2 separate regions of the Homo sapiens genome follow, and region 1 is linked to region 2. The links are contacts of gene promoters, found by promoter capture Hi-C in blood cells and fetal thymus (Javierre and others, 2016). All regions are on one chromosome and are shown on one strand. The core of a region is centred on a gene start or on the middle of the fragment in contact, and the rest is flanking DNA. Distances in the headings are between cores, read along the strand shown. Region 1 has its middle 14 kb from the start of DORIP1. Region 2 holds the start of FBXO33 (F-box protein 33).

Region 1 (2,700 bases), core at 94-2,593, 5.5 Mb before region 2:
CAAATGACAGGATCTCATTTTTTTATGGCTGAATATACTCCATTGAGTATATGTACCACATTTTCTTTATCTAGTCATCTATGGATGGACACTTAGGTTGCTTCTGAATCTTGCAAAAGATGTGTTGTGAATAGTACTGCAACAAACATGGGAGTGCAGATATCTCTTCAGTATACTGATTTCCTTTCTTTGGGGTATATACCTAGCTGTGGGATTGCTGGATCATATGGTAGCTCTATTTTTAGTGTTTCTTTTCTTTCTTTCTTTTGTTTTTTTTTGAGACAGGGTCCCACCCTGTCATTCAGGCTGGAGTGCAGTGGTACCATTTCGGCTTACTGCAACCTCCACCCCCTGAGGTCTAGCGATCCTCCTGCTGCACCTTCCCTAGTAACTGGGACTACAGCTGTGCACCACTATGTTCAACTAATTTTTGTATTTTTTTTGTAAAGATGGGTTTCGCCATGTTTACCAGACTCATCTCAGACTCCTGGACTCAAGTGATACACCTGCCTCGGCCTCCCTTCTCCCCATGCCTGGCCTATTTTTAGTTTTGTAATGATCCTCCAAACTGTTCTCCATAGTGGTTGTACTAATTTACATTCTCACCAACAATGTAAGAGGGTTCCCTTTTCTTCACATTCTTACCAGCATTTGTTATTGCCTGACTTTGCATAAAAGCCTTTTTAACTGGGGTGAGATGACATCTTACTGTAGTTTTGATTTGCATTTCTCTAATGATCAAAGATGTAGAGCACCTTTTTATATACTTGATTGCCATTTGTAAGTATTTTTTGAGAAATATCTAGTCAGGTCTTTTGCCCAGTTTTAAATCCGATTATTAGATTTTTTTCCTATAGAGTTGTTTGAGTTCCATATACTGGTTATTAATCCATTGTTAGATGAGTAGTTTGCATATATTTTCTCACACTCTGTAGGTTGTCTCTTCACTTTTTTGATTGTTTCTTTTGCTGTGCAGAAGCTTTTAAACTTGATGTGATCCCATTTGTCCATGTTTGGTTTGGTTGCCTGTGCTTGTGCTTACTCAACAAATATGCCCAGTCTGATGTCCTGGAGAGTTTCCCTAGTGTTTTCTGGTAGTAATTTCATAGTTTGAGGTCTCAGATTTAAGTCTTCAGTCCATTTCGATTTGATTTTTGTAGATGGTGAGAGATAGGGATCTAGTTTTATTCTTTTGCATGTGGATATCAAGTTCTCCCAGCACCATTTATTAAAGAGATTGTACTTTCTCCAGTGTACATTCTTGGCAGTTTTGTCAAAAAAGAGTTTATTGTAGCTGTATGGATTTATCTCTGGGATCTTTATTCTGTTCCACTGATCTATGTGTGTATTTTTATGACAGTACCGTGTTGTTTTGGTTACTATAGCTCTGTAGGATTATTTAAAGGCAGGTGATGTGATTCCTCCACTTTTTTTTTTTTTTTTTTTTTTTTGCTTACAATAGGTTTGTCTATTCTGAGTCTTTTGTGGTTCCATGTAAATTTTAGGATTGTTTATTCTATTTCTGTAAGGAAGGTCATTGGTATTTTGATAGAGATTACACTGAATCTGTAGATTGCTTCGAGTAATATGGACATTTTAACGATTTTGATTCTTCCAATACATGAACATGAAATATCTTTCCATTTTTTTGGTTTATTCTTCAATTTCTTGCATTAATGTCTTAATAGTTTTCATTGTATAAGCTTTTCACTTTTTTGTTTAATTCCTGGGTATTTATTTGTAGCTATTGTAAATGGGACAGCTTTCTTGATTTCTTTTTCAGATTGTTCAATGTTGGCATATAGAAATGCTTCTGCTGATTTTGTATGTTGATTTTATAACCTCCAACTACTGAATTTGTTTATCAGTTTTAATAATTTTTTTGTAAAGTCTTTGGTTTTTCTAAATATAAGATCATAGCATCTGCACGCAAGGATCATTTGAACTCTTGATTTGCAATTTGGATCCCCTTCATTTCTTTCTTTTCTGATTGCTCTAGGTAGGACTTCCAGTACTACGTTGAAAAAAAGTTGTGAAAGTGGGCATCCTTGTCATGTTCTTGATCTTAGAGGAAAGGCTTTCAGTTTTTCCCCATTGAGTATGATTCTAGCTATGGGTTTGTTACATATGGCTTTTATTTTGTTGAGGTATGTTCCTTCTATTTCCAATTTTTTTGAGGGTTTTTTTTTAATCTTGAAGGGATGTTGAATTTTATCAAATGCTTTTTCAGCATCAGTTGAAATGATCATATGGTTTTTGTCCTTCATTGTGTTGATATAATGTATCACATTAATTGATCTACATATGTTGAACTATCCTTGCATTCCTTGGCAAACTCTACTTGGCTGTAATGAATGACCTTTTTAATGTTTTGTCAATTTTGCTTTCCTAGTATTTTGTTGAGGATTTTTGCATCAATATTTATCAGTGATATTGGCATATAGTTTTCTTTTTTTTGATGTGGTGTTGTCTGGTTTTGGTAACGGGGTAATACTGGCCTCATAGAATGAGTTTGGAAGTAGTCTTTCCTCTTCTATTTTTCAGAATAGTTTGAGTACGATTAATATTAGTTCTTTAAATGTTAGGTAGAATTTAGCAGTGAAACTATAAAATCCAGGGCTTTTATTCACTGGGAGTCTTTTTATTATGGCTTTGATCTCATTACTTGTTAATGGTCTGTTCAGGTTTTAGATTTCTTCA
Region 2 (2,700 bases), core at 71-2,570:
TAAAATTAATAAGGTATAATTACCTAAAACTCTTGTAAACAGGGGCTCGAATAAGTAACCTATCACAATTGATAAACCACACCATGTTGTTGGCAACCTGATATGTGCAAGGCATTAAACGGAGAGCTTTGCCCTCAAAGGGTTAAGAACATCTAGAATGGGGGTCTCCTCTTTCGTCTTGGGAGCCCCCTCCGTCTGTCTCTGTAGTGGGGAGCTTCTTCCTTCAGCCTTCTTCCTTCTTTCTTGCCTATTAAATTCTCCGCTCCTTAAAACCAAAAAAAAAAAAAAAAGTCCAAAAAGTCTTGGTGTTTACCACAAAAGAACGATGCTATTCCAACATCACAGCCTCCCTAAAGCAACTCTCAATTATTACATAAAGAGGCAGCCTCCCTAAAGCAACCCTCGATTATTACATAAAGTCACTTAATCTTTTCTGACTTCACCACTCTTTGCAACCAGAGTTTACTTTGCAGTAGGCTGTGGTGAAGTTAGGGACATGGTTTGGAAAATCTAAGTTAGGGATACCAGGCAAAAAAAGAAGAAGAAGAAAGAAAAAAAATCAAAGCTCTGTCATTACTGTGAACTTTTCAACGAGAGCCTTAAATCTCAGCACAGGGAAAAGAGACCCTTCCTCAAGCCCTGGAGAAGAGGCTGGTCACAACCTGCGGATCTCAGATCCCTTTGCCAATTTTTTTCTCTCCCTCTGAATCCAAAGGGTGACGCTGTCCTCACTGCTTCCCCACACACCAGCGAGTGCGCGGAAGTCCACCTGCGTGGTTGGACCGAGGGGGCAGGTCCATTCGCGGCCTCCGCCACGCCCCACACCGCCCCTCCCGGCACAGCCCGCCGGGGTTAGCCCGCCCGTCCGCCAGCTCCCTCTCAGCGGCGCAATCTCAGGAATTCTTAACCCTACTCTGGGCAGGTGGGATGGCTGAGAAAGACCCTGCATGCCGCCACTTTGGCTCAGGGTCCTCAGCCCAAACTGAGAAACGTTTTACAAAGAAGCGTGACGACCTTTCGCACTAAACCAGAGTACCGCCACCTCCATCGACCGAGCGCCAAAATTAACCGACTTACAGATGTGACTGGGCGCAGCGGCCACCGTAAGGCGTAAGGGGTGCCAAGTGCCGGTTCCAGTCCCGCCCAGCCCCGCCCCGCCCCGCCCCGCCCAGCCCCGCCCCGCCCCGCGGCCTGCGTGCGTCAGAGATCACGTGCCGCGCCTCCCGTCCCTACAGGCAATCGGGCGCTCCCCTCTTCCGGAAGTCGCGCCGGTGCGCGCCGGACTCCTCCCACCAGCGGCGACGTCAAACTCAGCTCCTACCACTTCTCTGTCTCTGCCGACCGGCGCAGGGAGGGCTGCCTTTTCCTTACAGTACGCCTTGAGGCTTCCGGGCCGCTGAAGTTTACGAGCGAGGGCAGTGCAGTTACTCAGTGTGCCGGCCTCGGACGCACGTGAGTAGAGTTTGAGAAGACAGAGGCTGGCTCCCGGCAGGCCACGCCCGCAGAGGCCTTTCCCCCTCTCCACAACTTGTGTTCTACTTGGTTCCGCCGAGACCCACGACGGTTCCGCCCCCTTCTTCCTAGTCATTGATGTTGTTGTTCTTGTCAGTGCCGCAGCCCCGACCGCCGGGAGCTCGAACCCGAGCCGGGGCCGCCCGGGTGGCGCGGTGGCGGCGGCTGCGGCTGCAGCAGCTGCGACGGCTGCGGGGGCTGCTCCGGGTACTGCGGGGGCGGCCGGGAGCCGGCAGCCGGCGGCGGGGCCGGATGGCTCTGTGCGGGCAGGCGGCGGGCGCTGCGTCGCTGCCCAGCGAGCTGATCGTGCACATCTTCTCTTTTCTGCCGGCGCCCGACCGGCTGCGGGCCTCGGCCTCCTGCTCGCACTGGCGTGAGTGCCTCTTCTATCCGGCCCTGTGGCCCCAGCTCCGCATCTGCCTCCGCGTCTCGCCCGCGGAGCAGCCTCGGCTGGAATTCCTCATGCGCAAGTGCGGCTGGTTCGTGCGAGAGCTGCGTGTTGAATTCGCCGCCGAGAACTATCTGAGCGGCGGTGGCCCAGGGGACGGAGGTGGCGCGGACACCGGGACTGGAGGGGAGGAAGTCGAGGCCCTGCAGCTCTCAGCTCGTTGGCTGGAAGTGCTGCGCACCTACTTGGAGCTGGTGCTTTGCGTGCTGGTCAGCATCCGGAACAACAGGTAGGCTTGCCCTGAGCCCCGCCCCGCCCGGTAACGGGGGGTCGCTCCGTCCCCGCACCCCGACACAGATTCTGTGCATAATACGTGCCCGGCCAACTTCAGTGTTGCCTTCCTCAGTGACGGAGAGTGTTGGTTCTAACTAGGCGGTTTCCTTGAGCGGAAAGGCATAACGGGACTCATCACGATACTTTATAAACAGTGGTGGACGGGGTGTTTAACAGACACCACTTCTGGCGCCTTCCAGGCACTCATTCATCCTCTTGGTGGCCGTGGGATGGAGCTGACAGGCGCTGTCACTTTTCATTTTATATATGGGAGCGTTAAGACTGGGAGGGTGAGGCCTGTGGGTGAGCCTTGGAAGAAACAAAACATACACATAACACGATTTTCTGACTCTGAATCTGTTAGAAATAGTTCATGGTGAGGGAAGGAGTAGGTACTCATAGGACGCTGCCTAAAAGAAATTTTGTAACAGCCATTTTCTTACCAGAAATAGTTTCGGCTAACTGAA

What was found. The method cuts DNA at HindIII sites, captures the fragments that hold promoters and counts their contacts. A CHiCAGO score of 5 or more calls a contact.
Region 1: a contact is called between a fragment that was not itself captured here and the fragment with the promoter of FBXO33 in region 2, in 7 of 17 cell types (total B cells, non-activated CD4 T cells, total CD4 T cells and 4 more). The highest score is 14.4, in total B cells.

The regions. Positions count from the first base shown.
Region 1 is chr14:44,882,139-44,884,838 of GRCh38, reverse strand. No RefSeq gene overlaps it. Among named protein-coding and RNA genes, the nearest start is that of DORIP1, 14 kb to the left of the region's middle. The HindIII fragment of the contact is 724 bases long and covers 982-1,705 here.
Region 2 is chr14:39,431,053-39,433,752 of GRCh38, reverse strand. FBXO33 (F-box protein 33) reads left to right here and starts at 1,320. Exons shown (of 4, transcript NM_203301.4): 1 at 1,320-2,189. The coding sequence starts at 1,591. It overlaps LOC105370461 (a long non-coding RNA gene), which reads right to left and starts at 1,314. Exons shown (of 8, transcript XR_007064121.1): 1 at 1,234-1,314. RefSeq lists silencers at 722-891, 1,632-1,761, 2,202-2,331 and an enhancer at 1,282-1,531. The HindIII fragment of the contact is 7,836 bases long and covers 1-2,700 here.